Regions from separate parts of the Homo sapiens genome. Here region 1 is linked to region 2. Evidence: promoter capture Hi-C in 16 types of primary human blood cells and fetal thymus (Javierre and others, 2016). All regions are on one chromosome and are shown on one strand. Each heading gives the region's core, a stretch centred on a gene start or on the middle of the fragment in contact. The rest is flanking DNA. Distances are from core to core; before and after follow the strand shown. Region 1 overlaps SIK3 (SIK family kinase 3). Region 2 holds the start of SIK3 (SIK family kinase 3).

Region 1 (6,222 bases), core at 536-3,035, 140 kb after region 2:
ATATTTTGCTGCATGGATACAACATGTAATGATCAAATCAGGGTAATTAGGATATCCATTACCCCAAACATTTATCATGTCTTTCTGTTGGTGACATTTCAAATCTCCTTCAGCCATTTTGAAATATGTAATAAATTATTGTTAATTATAGCCAACAAAAGGCATTATTGCTAGTACAGATATTTCTTGACTTATGATGGGTTACGTCCCAATAAACCCATTATAAGTTGAAAATATGGTAAGTCAGAAATGCATTTAATTCACTCTATTGTTATCTACCCACGTGATTGTGTGGCTGACTGGGAGCCACACAATCTCTGTTTACCATTATGAAGATCCTATTGCTTCAGAATGCAAATGAAATTTAGAGTGAGTGCCTTGTGAATCAGGGAGGCCCCACTATATGACTCCCTGTGATCTCTTGGAGGTGAAAGAATGCACAAATTTCATAAGTTAACCTGAAGGTCACCCGCTTTTCCCCAGTTACATTGTACATGCCATCAATTAGTAGGGGGTGGGCAGAGGTGGAAGATTTCAGGCACAGGCCTTAGACAGTTGATGCCCTCTGTTATTAAGGTAAATAAATCCTAGCAGTTCTTCCCACCTTTTGCACATCATGGCATGCACAGAAAGTTGAGATTGGAGGTGATCCATTATTGCTTGTAACCCATTTCCAACACACTTGTTTGGAAGTTCTTTTTTTTTCTTTTGAGACAGGGTCTCATTCTGTTGCTGGCACGATCATAGCTCACTGCAACTTCAGCTCCCGGGATCAAACTGTCCTTCCACCTCAGCCTCCTGAGTAGCTGGGACTACAGACACATGCTACCATGCTCGGCTAATTTTTAAAAAGTTTTTTAGTAGAGATGGGGTTTCACCATATTGCCCATGCTGGTCTTGAACTCCTGGACTCAATCAGTCTGCCCTCCTTGGCCTCCGAAAGTGCTGGGATTACAGCTGTTTGGCAGCTCTGCTATGGGGATATATCTGCAAGTTTCTAAGCTTGTTATATTTATGAAAGCATTCTGTACATTACAAGGTGCCATTCACATGTAAGATTTTATTAATAATGACTATTAAGACCAAGCTATTTGTTCTAGGAAGAGACATTGTGTACCATGATTTTTTTTGTTGTTGTTTTGGGAGCTGTCCTGAGAGAAGCAGGAGCAGATGCTAGACCAGTTGTGGAGTTAAGGTCTTGTATGTGATCTGGTGCAGTAATGAGGAGAAGTAGAAATGCAGGTGGTCAAGGGTTATATTATCCAAGACTTCTTACAGGAAACCAAGCAGCTGGTGAGATCCTCATTAAATTCTCTACCTTCTTCTCTGCCTATCCCAGTTCTCTCTGTAGTGAAATTCTGCTTTCTTTGTCAAGTCTTTCCCAGACTTTTTCTACCTCTTCTCCTGTAGGTGAAGGTCATTCACCATCCTCTGTCTGTTGTTATACCTGGTACATAGCTCCATTGCTTGTACTTCCAATGCTGCATTGTTTTCAGTTCCACACATCTTTTTTCCTTTTTAGACTGTGATCTCCTTGAAGTTTAGGCTGTGTCTGATTAATCCTTGTAGCTCCAGCCACACCCAGCTCCTTTCATCACACTCCCTCGTTAGGCATGGCTTGAATGCTCTTTGAGTACAGCTGAAATTTATCTCCCTGTGCCTTTCTCCCGTGGGTCCTCATTTTAACACCTGAAACAGCTTCAGATAAAGTTACTTTTATGCCAGCCATTTATACATCTGAATAATCTGCCACGTATGGCTCCAAACAGTCTTTATTTCTCTGAGCTAAACATTTTTACTTTTGTAATTTTGTTTTCCTGATTTTTTCCTCAGTAAGTACTGTATATGTTCCCTTTACCTCTCTGGTGCATAGAATCTTAGAATGTTAAGATTTGGAGAGGACTAGAGTTTGACTAGTCTAGGTTCTTCATCTAACCAGTATTGCTTCCATACTGATTACATAATTGAAACTGAGATATAGACATATTTTGGAGCAACACAAATATTTTAAGTATTTCACTGAGGAAGTTTAGATTTAGTAAATTTTTAAAAGTCCTTCATCGTTCATTCTTCATTAAAATGTATTTGCTGATGAGTATCTTATTAAAAGGGGGCACATTGGAAAGATATGTTTTATGATGCAGTGCATGTATGCTAAAGAAAGATCTTCAGATTCTTATAACATTCTTATTAAGAATTTGATTCTAAAGCCAAGCTACCTAGGCTTCAATCCTGCACCTGCCACATACTAGGTGTAAATTACTTAATCTTGGGTTAATTACTTAATCTCTGTGTGCCTCAGTTTCTGTATTTCTAAAGCAAGGTTAATGATAAGGTGGGTGTTAGGAGGTTTAAATGAGTTAGTACTTCCAAACCACTAAGAGTTATGCCTGGCCCATAGTAAACATTTCGTATATGGTAGATGCTGCTACTGCTGCTGCCACCACCATCACTGCTACTATTATTATTATTATTGAGTTCTACAAGCATCTGGTGAGATGTGTAAAGCCCCTGTGAAAGTTCTCATAGAACCTTAGTAAGACACCATGTATTTATGATACAAGCTTCTTGCCTTTTTAAAAATTTTTTATTTTATTTAAAGCTTCTTGTCTTAATGAGAGACCCTGTATACCACTCTGCACTGAAACATGATTTGACCCAGACCGTAACGACATCTATGGAGTAATAAAGTATTTTTTCATAGGATTTTACCGTATAAGCAATTGAAGAAATGGCAGAAGACCCATTAGCTTTTGGAGTCTGTTCCTTTGAGACCAACTTGCTAGGAATCCATTTCCTATCTTTTTAAAAAGAGTAAATTAATTTTCCTCATTGACATTCTGTAAACAGAATACTGGCAGCTTATATTTTATGGAACGTAATGTTTTAAAGTGAACCTAATTTTTCTTAGTAAACTGCTTTTAATAATGCATCAGAGTAATTTTTTTCCCTCTGTTGTCAGGTTGCTATCAAGATCATAGATAAGACCCAGCTGGATGAAGAAAACTTGAAGAAGATTTTCCGGGAAGTTCAAATTATGAAGATGCTTTGCCACCCCCATATCATCAGGCTCTACCAGGTAGGATCATTAGTGTATAGCAGATAGCTGCAAAGAACCCAGAATATTGTATGTATGGCTCCCTTTGAAGAAATGTGGGTGGGTGAACATCTGTGACTTTTTTTGTTTCTATGTTAATCCTGCTATCTTTCCTACCCTTCTGTTTACGCGCTCAGCACTTAGTATCCTCAAGTTTCCCCTGGCCATTTACTAGTACGTTTTCCTTACCCAGGTAGGTCTTTTTAATTTGTTCTTTAAAATTTGATGCCATTCTTAGCAACAACTACACAAAATGTTAATTCAGAAGATGATGAGAATTTATTTTATTTAGTTCAGAGTTCTAACACAGGATGGGAAACTCAAAAAGAAGAGAATTTAGAGAGGTGAAAAGTTAGAGATGAATATAACATTTTTTTAATAGCATTATTTGAATACTAGTTTCTGTGATCATGTTATAAATTGTTATGGCAAAGGACTGCTTCTTGGATCAATCAAAACCTACCTCTTTTCTATTCTAATAGGATTGTAGACTTAGTTTTCCAAGGTAGTAATTATTTTGATAATCAAGAGACCAGATCAAGTGACCAGATCTCTCCAATAGGAGAGATTTCTATTTTAGTTTTTTTTTTTTTTGGTCTTCCCAAGAAACATGCATATTTCATGCCATCATCAAAATGATTCCCTAGCATAACTACAAAAGCAGTAAATCTGATGGCTGGAATTTCAAGCGGGATAGGAGGAGAGGACCTTGCCTTAGCAGGCTGGTGAAAGAGATATTTTGGGAGAGGTGGGGCTTCGGGATGCTTCTCAAATTGCAATGTGTTGGCAGCCGAGAACTTTGCCTCTGCATAGGCCCAACTCTACTTGCTGCTTTCTGCCAGAACAGCCATCTCTTAGTTCTGAAGGACGTGGCCACCCACTTGGTTATTTTGCTGCTGTTAGTCTGCAGTAAATGGTTACTGGCCCAGACATAGGACCATGTGTAAAAGTGGAGAAAGTACACCCAAGGCTCTATGGGCAAGCTTTCGTAGCCTCTTAGTTTTATGGAAAAGAAAACATGTTGTGATATTAACATGTGTGGTTAAAACTACAGCGTTAGAGCTCTTCCCTGGCATCAGCTGCTCACATAATGAAATTAGGTCAACAGGAGCAGACCTGTTGAAATTTATCAGCCTAAATTATGTTGAACAACGCCTACCTTCTGCCCCACAAGCAAACTTATGAAAGCTTCCTGGTGCTGCCTGAAGACCTATATCTGTGAGCTCACAGGTGTCTAACCTCAGCTTCCTTCCTATCCTGATGGGCTGAATAAATTTCTTGACCTTACCTTTTAAAATAAATCATCTTTAAATAATTGTGGGGCTTAGGCTGACCTTTCTCAAGAGGTTGACTTATAGCTATTACCCTTGTAACTGAATTCTGCAAGTTTGCCTGTCTTACCCAAGATTAGCCTATGAGGATTTCCACAGGTCCAGTGCTAGCTTTGAGCAGTGCCTTCTTTCAAGCTTTAATTTTGCTTTCTGGCAGCTGGGTTTTTTAAATTTTATTTATTTATTTATTTATTTATTTTTGAGACGAAGTCTCACTCTGTTGCCCGGGCTGGAGTGCAGTGGCATGATCTCTGCTCACTGCAGCCTGCGCCTCCTGGGTTCAAGTGATTCTACTGCCTCAGCCTTCCAAGTAGCTGGGATCACAGGCATGTGCCACCACGCCCAGCTAATTTTTGTATTTTTAGTAGAAACGGGGTTTCACTGTGTTGGCCAGGCTGGTCTCGAACTCCTAATCTCAAGTGATCCACCCACCTCGGCCTCCCAAAGTGCTGGGATTACAGGCGTGAGCCACTGCGCCTGGCCGGAACTGAATTTTTAATTGTATTTAGTTTTAATTAATTTAAGTGTAAAACTAAAAATAATTTTAAAAAGAATTGTTGAAATGATAGTATTTTGGATATATTGGGGTAAATAAAAAGTAGTATTAGAATTATCTTCACCTTTTCCTTTTTCCTTTTTAAATGTGGCTACTAGAAAAGTTAAAATAATATATGCAGTTCATATTATATTTCTATTGGACAGCACTGTTGTAGAAAGATATACAATAAGCAGAGAACAGTGTTCCTCTGGGGATTGAGATGGAGGAGATTGGGAAGAGGAAAGCCTTTGGTCTTTTGTTTTATAATGAGTGTATGTAATCATTATTACTTTTAAAAATGTTTGATGGAAAATGTAAAAAGGAAGAAAGGACTGACAACATACTACAATGAATTTTAAAAAGGAGCAACAAAGGGACCAAGACAAAACACAAATCACTTACGTTACTTTAAAAGGTTGAGTATTTTAAATTACTGTTCTCTTTTTTTCAAATAAATGGGCAGTGGAAAGGAAAGTTGTCATTTCTATAAAAAAAAGAAAGACATATGTGATTTCTGTGGCGTTCTTATGTGACTCCCATTATTTTCCCCAAAGGCTTCTTTTTGCTTTAGTTTTTTTTTTTTTGATTTGATAGGGCATTTTTGTGCTTCAGATGATTGATGTTGAATCTGAAGTTTAAGTTTTGGTTCTTGACAACTTCTTTGCCTCTCAGTTTTATGGAGCTTAAGAGATTGCAGAGACCTCATGGAACATCAAAAAGCCTATCTCTCTCAAGCAATAAATGTTTCCTACTTTTAAGAACTTGGAGGAATATCTAATTTTCCCTTTCTTCTTAATAACATTTATATTTGTTTCCCCAAAAATGTTTTAAATTTTCTTTAATCTATAGTGGTTATTAATATTTCAAATGAGAAAAGAGGAGTCATTAGTTTATCTTCCTGTATCAGCCTGTCATTTGTGTCACTGTCTGTCACTTTCCTGCCTTTGCACCAGGTTATGGAGACAGAACGGATGATTTATCTGGTGACAGAATATGCTAGTGGAGGGGAAATATTTGGTAAGTACATTTATTGCATTCTTTAAACAGCTATTGAGCACACTATGGCAAACCTAAAATAGCTGTTCAGTGCCTTTGTCACTTGAGCAGCAGTCACTTGATGCTGTTCTTCAATCCTGCCATTTTCTATCAACAAAGGCATTTTAATTTGTTTTGATTAATCTAGTAAAATCCCTTTAACACATTTGTTTCCTTAGCAAAGGTGTTTTGTTTATTTCAGTCAGGCGCTGACAGTTGAG
Region 2 (6,759 bases), core at 1,376-3,875:
AGGTTGTTGTGAAGATTAAGTGAGTTCCCTTAGGTACACTGTTTAGCATAACGCGTGGCAGATTGCTATTTCCTCTGAGTTTCTCTCAGAACCTAACTCAGTTCTTGGTACTCAATAAATCCTTATTAAACGTAAACATCTAAACTATTTTCCTTTTTGCCTGATGATCTCCTTTGATTACTCCCTTCTCTAATTTTCTATATTCTTTGTGCCAAAGAGGACTATTCTTCAAGGAGATCTCCAGCAAGTCTCTACCAAAGTCTCAATCAGAAACACCATCTAGTGACCTCAATCTATACAGGAAAGGAGCGTAAGTGACATAACACACAGCACACAGCATATGTTCTGGTCATTATTGAGGGACAAGAGTCATCTGCTTCTTCTCTGTGGAAATTAGAACAATGCTGCATTTTCTAGGTCCTTCCCAGAGTTGTTTTTGTTTTTGACACTCTTGAGAGAGTAGCAAAAGTTCTGATATTTGATGTTCGAATTACCTCCATTAGTGGAGGACACTCTGTGATCATACAGTCATCAGTAAGAATGGTTTCAGTGCTGCTCCTGCAGCTTCCACAGTGAAAGATTTTTTTATTTGCTTTACTAGCCAGCTAAGGTTTCTGTTGAGACACCCAGGGAGATGGTAAAACTGCAGCTGTAGCTGGGCACGGTGGCTCACGCCTGTAATCCCAGCACTTTGGGAGGCTGAGGCGGGGGGATCACGAGGTCAGGAGTTCGAGACCAGTCTGGCCAACATATCGAAACCCCGTCTCTACTAAAAATACAAAATTAGCCGGGCATGGTGGTGTGCGCCTGTAGTCTCAGCTACTCGGGAGGCTGAGGCAGGAGAATGGCTTGAACCTGGGAGGTGGAGGTTGTGGTGAGCTGAGATTGCACCACTGCACTCCAGCCTGGGTGACAGAGTGAGACTCTGTCTAAAAAAAAAAACAAAAACCCAAAAACTGCAGCTGTGAAGCCCAGCACCAAAGTTATAGTCCCTGCTAGAGGCAGCTGAGAGCCATGAAGTGATAGGAGAGGCAGGTCACACCCCATCATTTATCTGGGATGGAATGAGCTCAGCTGATGAAAGGGCTTAACCAATGCAAGAAGCCAAGGCCCACTTCATTCTTATCTTTAGTTGCTAATAAGGGAGCCAATTAGTGTTAATTGTGTTGGCAGTTTGGAACAGCTACCAGGGAATAGATCCAAGACCATTGTGGGATGACCCCTCTGTCCCATCTTAAGTCCCAGCCATTACTCATGGTTGGATAGGGAATTGGAGCACCAGGAGGTGTTCTTTGGTCAGCGAGTAAACACGAGTTATCCTTCCACACATTTACAGTGCCCTGGGTGTCAGTTTTTAATACTGTGCATGCAGTGACCTCACAATACAGTTCTACCATTGAGAGAGACATAGATATGGATGGATCAGGACTAGTCCAAAGGAATACATTTTAACATTGGAATATTCACAATCTTCCCTCCTTTCCACCCAGCCTGCCAAAGACTATTTTGTTGACAGTCTGATTTCCTACCTGCAACCCTCACCTAAAGCAGCTAAGTTAATCTATTTAATAAAGGGAAGGGGAGAGAGGAGGAGGAAGCCTGGGAGCTATGAAGGATGCAGGTAATAGGCAAGGGAAGAAAAAGAGATATGAAATTGCTGGAGTTATTAACTTGATGACCCTCAATGTCCTCGGAGAGTCACTAGGAAGGATGGAATTTTTATTATTTACTTATTTATTTTGCTTAACCGACTGTTGTTTAAACACGACGTGGTTCATTGGACAATGCGCACCACTGCTTCATCAGGGTTATACAAGCAACAGAAATAGTATGTAGGCACTCTGACAGACATCCCTGTAGAATTGTTCAGAGATGGGGGTGGTAGGAAGGAAAATGACGTACCTTCTTTGGCTGTCACCCACCCAATGACTGGAATGCCTGTTTGGACTGGCTTGTCCGCCCTTGAACACGCAAATCCTAGTTTCCCCATTCTCCTATATTCGGTGACAATTAGGTTGACTGTGCAGGGTGAGCTGGATTTTGTAAGAGGAAGGAATTTTACCGAAGAATTCCCCTGCGTTGTTACCAACTTGGTTACAGTTGCTTCAAGAGTGTAGCTATTCCTGCATTTGTGGCCTCAAGGGCTAAAGTGGGACAACGCTGGTATTTTTGGTGATGAGGAAACACTTTTTTTTTGTTAAGGGAGGTTGGGTGATCGTTGAACTGGGACAGAGGTCACAGCAGAGGTCACATTGGCGATTCGAGCGGCGGTGGGGGGTTGGCTTTGGGTCGGGCATCCTGCGCCCCCCACTCGGGAAAGGTGGCGGAGACTTCGAGGTTGGGGGCCCATCGAAGGTTCCCACCGCCAGCTCCCGGAGGGGGGCACCCGGGAGCCAGCGCCTCAGGAACCGGGGCCCACGCGGGAAGGTCGAGCCCGCCGGTGAGGTCACGGTTGCCATGGCTCCGGGCAGTGACGCGCGTCGGCACGTGACCCGCGGTTGCCATGGAGCCGGGCGCCGGTCGGCGAAAGCGCCCCGCCTCCCCGAGTGACGTCCGCGGCCCCCCCTTTCCCGCCCCCCCTTGCCCCCTCCCCCGAGCCGGCTCCCCGCGGCCCCGGAGGTTTCACTGCACAACAAGATGGCGGCGGCGGCGGCGAGCGGAGCTGGCGGGGCTGCCGGGGCCGGGACTGGGGGAGCCGGGCCCGCGGGCCGCCTGCTGCCTCCGCCCGCGCCGGGGTCCCCAGCCGCCCCCGCTGCCGTGTCCCCTGCGGCCGGCCAGCCGCGTCCCCCAGCCCCGGCCTCCCGCGGACCCATGCCCGCCCGTATCGGCTACTACGAGATCGACCGCACCATCGGCAAGGGCAACTTCGCGGTGGTCAAGCGGGCCACGCACCTCGTCACCAAGGCCAAGGTACCGGCGCAGGGGCCAGGCGGCAGTCGGAGCGTGGCGGGGCCGGGAGAGGTCCGCGCCCCCCAGCCGGGGGGTCGGGGCGGCGAGCGCGGCGCGTGGTGGGAGCGTTGGGGGCCGGGAGGCGGGAGGGAGCCAGCCGCGGCGGGGCGGGCGCGGAGCTAGGGACACCTGGGACTCGAGACGGCGGAACTCCAAGCAGGGGGCCGAGGGCACAGAGCACCGGCGCCCAGGAGCCGGGCGCGGGGAGGGGTCCTCGGGGCTGAGGGCAGGCGGGTAAAGGGGATGATTGGAAAGAAGGGGTCGGAACTCCCCGAGGGCCGGGAGACTGTAAGCCCAGAAGACTCTGGAACCAGCAGCTAGGGAATCATAAGGGAATGAGGGCAGGGGCATATGAAATGTGGACCCGGAGGATGGGGAAAAACAAGGGTGAAGTGGCAGACCCGGGCTTGTAAGGGGACCCAGGACGGCTGGGGCACGGACTGGGAATGTGCACGTCTGCAGGGCGCTGGGAGGTCCCAGGATCCTGGTGCCTTAAGACAGAGACAGGAATCCGCATTTGATCATCTAAGACTGATAGATGGTGCGAAGGGGATCCCGAGGAGACACGATTAGTGGAGGAGGCAATGAGGAAAATGGGGAAATAAGGGGGAAATTGCTTTGCTTGTCCACAGGAAGGGGCCCAGGGAATGGGGGAGTGAGGTGGGGGTGGGGGCTGTCCCAGGTTTATGATGGCACTAGGTAGTCAGGGGTTAAACAATTTGGGAGAGCTGATTGCTGGTTATTTTTAGTTGTTGGAGGGTCGGGAATTGTGGGCTTTGTAGAACCCAGGGTGGGCTTTTACTGGTTGGGGGGAAGCTTGTGATTGAAGAACCCAGACACCGGGAGATTACACTCATCGAGCCCTTAGTTCTCAAAGGGATTTGAGGCGCTATAGGAGTGAAATTGGCCAAGGTCAATTAGGAAGCTATATATGTATGCATGTAAAATTCTTTGAGGAAATATGGTAGCACTTTCATGTAGCCTTCGTTGGGAGGACTGGAATCTAAGACATCAGGAGGAATCTTTTGGTTTTGGTGGAACCCGCAAAGCCCATTTTTACTCTAAAATTTTCTTTGCTCAATATCTTACTTGAATGAATACTTTTAATGTAGTCATTCATTATGTTTAGAACTGCAGCTTGTGTTTTCCCTCAGCCTGAGGAATGAAGAACCCTTACAGCTGCTGCCGCCTCCTACCAAAGCCACATCAATTCCCCTCACCTCCTCAGCCTAGCCTCTGGTTGTCATGACCTACCTTGTTTTTGCTTTTTTGGCAGTGGCTTGTTTTCTGAAGCCAGTGACTTATCTAGGCCTTCTCTCCTGATCACTTGCAACCTGAAGTTCCTTCCCCACCATCTTTCTGCCTGAGGCTACAAGGGGCCCTTCTTACCAGGGTGTCAGGGTGGGTGGCTGTGGCGAATTGATTGGTCAGTTTCACTTCCTCTGGAGGGCCCTCTTCAGCCTTTTTGTCCGTTTTTATCACAGGGCCTCCAGTCTGCAGGTCAGAGCTGAATGAGATACCAAAGTCCAGGGCTCCCTCAGACCCTGAGGGGAAGTCAGGGGAAGTCGATTGAGCCAAGACTTTGGTGTGCTCCTCACTTGCCACCCCAGCCCCTCACCGTGTTTCCAGTCTAGTTGACTATTAGCCAAGGCAAACTTACATTTACAAACAATATGCCTTGTTCCTTGTTTTGCTATTTCTTTCCTTTTTTTCTGCCTATTTTCTGTGTAATCACTTTGTGCTCCTGTGGTTATTTTGCTCTGACCTCTGGGGGATAGTCTCCATGAACTTAATTGGTTGCCTGGTTTATGGTTTCATGATTTAAAGAATTTTGAATCTTCCAGCCCTTGGATACACCAAAATATTGATAAAATCTGTTACAGACAGGGTTGAATGTTTTCGTAAATGTAATTGCAAACAGTTGATTCTTGGCTTTAATATAAAAGAGACATTTCTATCTTCAGTAGTCAGCAAAGCCAGTGCCTAATTATGGCTGGTCTGCCCGCTTTCTAATTTTCATGTGTGTGTATATGTGCGTGCGTGTGTTTTTCATAGTTTTTCTCTGAGACCTTGGTATCCTTTAGGACTGCAGCATTTTAAACACTGGCTTGTTTACAAACGGGTGTCACTGTTTATGTTGGTTTTTATCTTTGATCATTTGTGGTATGCAGTTGTGCAATTCCTATGTATGGAAATATTCAAAGTCTTGAATGAGACTGAAATGGCTTGGACAATGAGTTGCATGTGTGAAGGAGCCACACCAGCATTCATTTGTGTTTCTGTAGCAGTGTGCAATTTCCTAGTTACAGTTACAAGTGCTATATCTTTTGCTGCTTAAATTACTCTGACTACATGAGTGAAGCTTAATTCACAAGGAGTTGTCACGTGCTCTGGGTGAACTAGGAGCATATTTTGGCCTGCTCCATGCTTCTCTGAATCCACTTTGGAAGGGGTTCTCAAATGCGGACAGCTTAGATGTGCCTAACAGCTGTCGACATACAGTACGATGGCCTATTAAGGTTATGGTTTGGTTATATAACAATGGTGAAGGTGCATAGGTACTAGAAGTTGCCGAAGCTGCTGCTTCAGTTAACTCAGGTTGATTTTTTTTCTCCCCATGCACTGCAGCCTTTATCTTACTTCTGCAGAGGGGTCATTTGGAAACAGAGAGTTATTTTTTTCCCCCATCTGTCTCCAGAATGTGTCATTTGTTGTTTTGTCTTTTAGAGGTGTGTGATTTTTTTTTCCCCTTGTAGGAAATGGTCTGGGTTTTCTTATAACCATATATAACAGTCAGACAGAGGTAATTCAGATGATACTTGTGTTGGCTGAAGGAGGTTAGGTAATAGGTATTTTCTGAACATTAGAAATAATTATGATCCCCCTCCTTTTTTTTTTTTTTTTTTTTTTTAAACACACATGACCCATTCCAAGAACTAAGAGACTAAAGTAAACCTCATTTATTGAGTAGGATACTGCACTCCATCCAATACTGCGTGGTTAAGCTGGCCCTTTCCCAAATTCTGTTAACTCTCAAACCGTCTAGAGTGGGATCCTGGGATGAATAAAATCAGTAGAGAAAAGTGAAGCTTTTCCTATTTGGTTGTTGGTTACTTTTGCAGCACGGCATTCATGAGCTCAGACTTCATATTGGCAGCACTGCAGTGCTTAGAGCGGCACTGCAGAACAGTTACCAGGAGAGAATGTTCAGCTGTGACATACTTTGGTTAGTAGCTCACCCTGGCTGTCTTTGTCCTACCTGCTTTGATTTCCTTTTCTTTGGAAGAGCCTTACTTAGCCTGAGGTTCTCTGGCTCTGTTTTTTTTTTTGGTAGGAAACTATAAAGTATTACAGATATTTTTAAAAAAGAATGTTTTCTGCTCTCAAATTGCAGGTAGTCTGTTGCCTGTGCCTAATTATACCTTCACTAGTTGGATGATTGGGAACAAAGAGTAGATAGATTTTGTATGCATTTTTTTTCCTTTTTTAAAATATTGGGGCAGGGTCTTACTCTGTCACCCAGGCTAGAGTGCAGTGACACTGCCAGAGTTCACTGTAACCTCCAACTCCCAGGCTCAAGAGATCCTCCTGCCTCAGCTTCCTAAGTAGCTGGGACTACAGGCTTATACCACCACACCAGGTTAATTTTTAAATTTTTTTTGTAGAGATGGGGGTCTCATTATGTTGCCCAGGCTGGTCTTGAACTTCTGGACTCAAGTGATCCTCCTGCTTCAGCCTCCCAAAGTGCTGGGATTACAGGCATGAGTCTGTAACCCAAATGCTTGGCCCATATGCATTTTTTAAAGTATG

Evidence for each region. The method cuts DNA at HindIII sites, captures the fragments that hold promoters and counts their contacts. A CHiCAGO score of 5 or more calls a contact.
Region 1: a fragment that was not itself captured here is called in contact with the fragment with the promoter of SIK3 in region 2 in 17 of 17 cell types (total CD8 T cells, naive B cells, naive CD8 T cells and 14 more); the score reaches 31.8 in total CD8 T cells.

Annotation. Positions count from the first base shown.
Region 1 is chr11:116,953,805-116,960,026 of GRCh38, reverse strand. It overlaps SIK3 (SIK family kinase 3), which reads left to right. Exons shown (of 25, transcript NM_001366686.3): 2 at 2,963-3,079; 3 at 5,920-5,983. Among named protein-coding and RNA genes, the nearest start is that of APOA1, 120 kb to the right of the region's middle. The HindIII fragment of the contact is 1,562 bases long and covers 1,005-2,566 here.
Region 2 is chr11:117,094,294-117,101,052 of GRCh38, reverse strand. It overlaps SIK3 (SIK family kinase 3), which reads left to right and starts at 2,625. Exons shown (of 25, transcript NM_001366686.3): 1 at 2,625-2,910. The coding sequence starts at 2,638. RefSeq lists silencers at 2,437-2,616, 2,697-2,746 and an enhancer at 4,068-4,117. The HindIII fragment of the contact is 6,059 bases long and covers 1-3,767 here.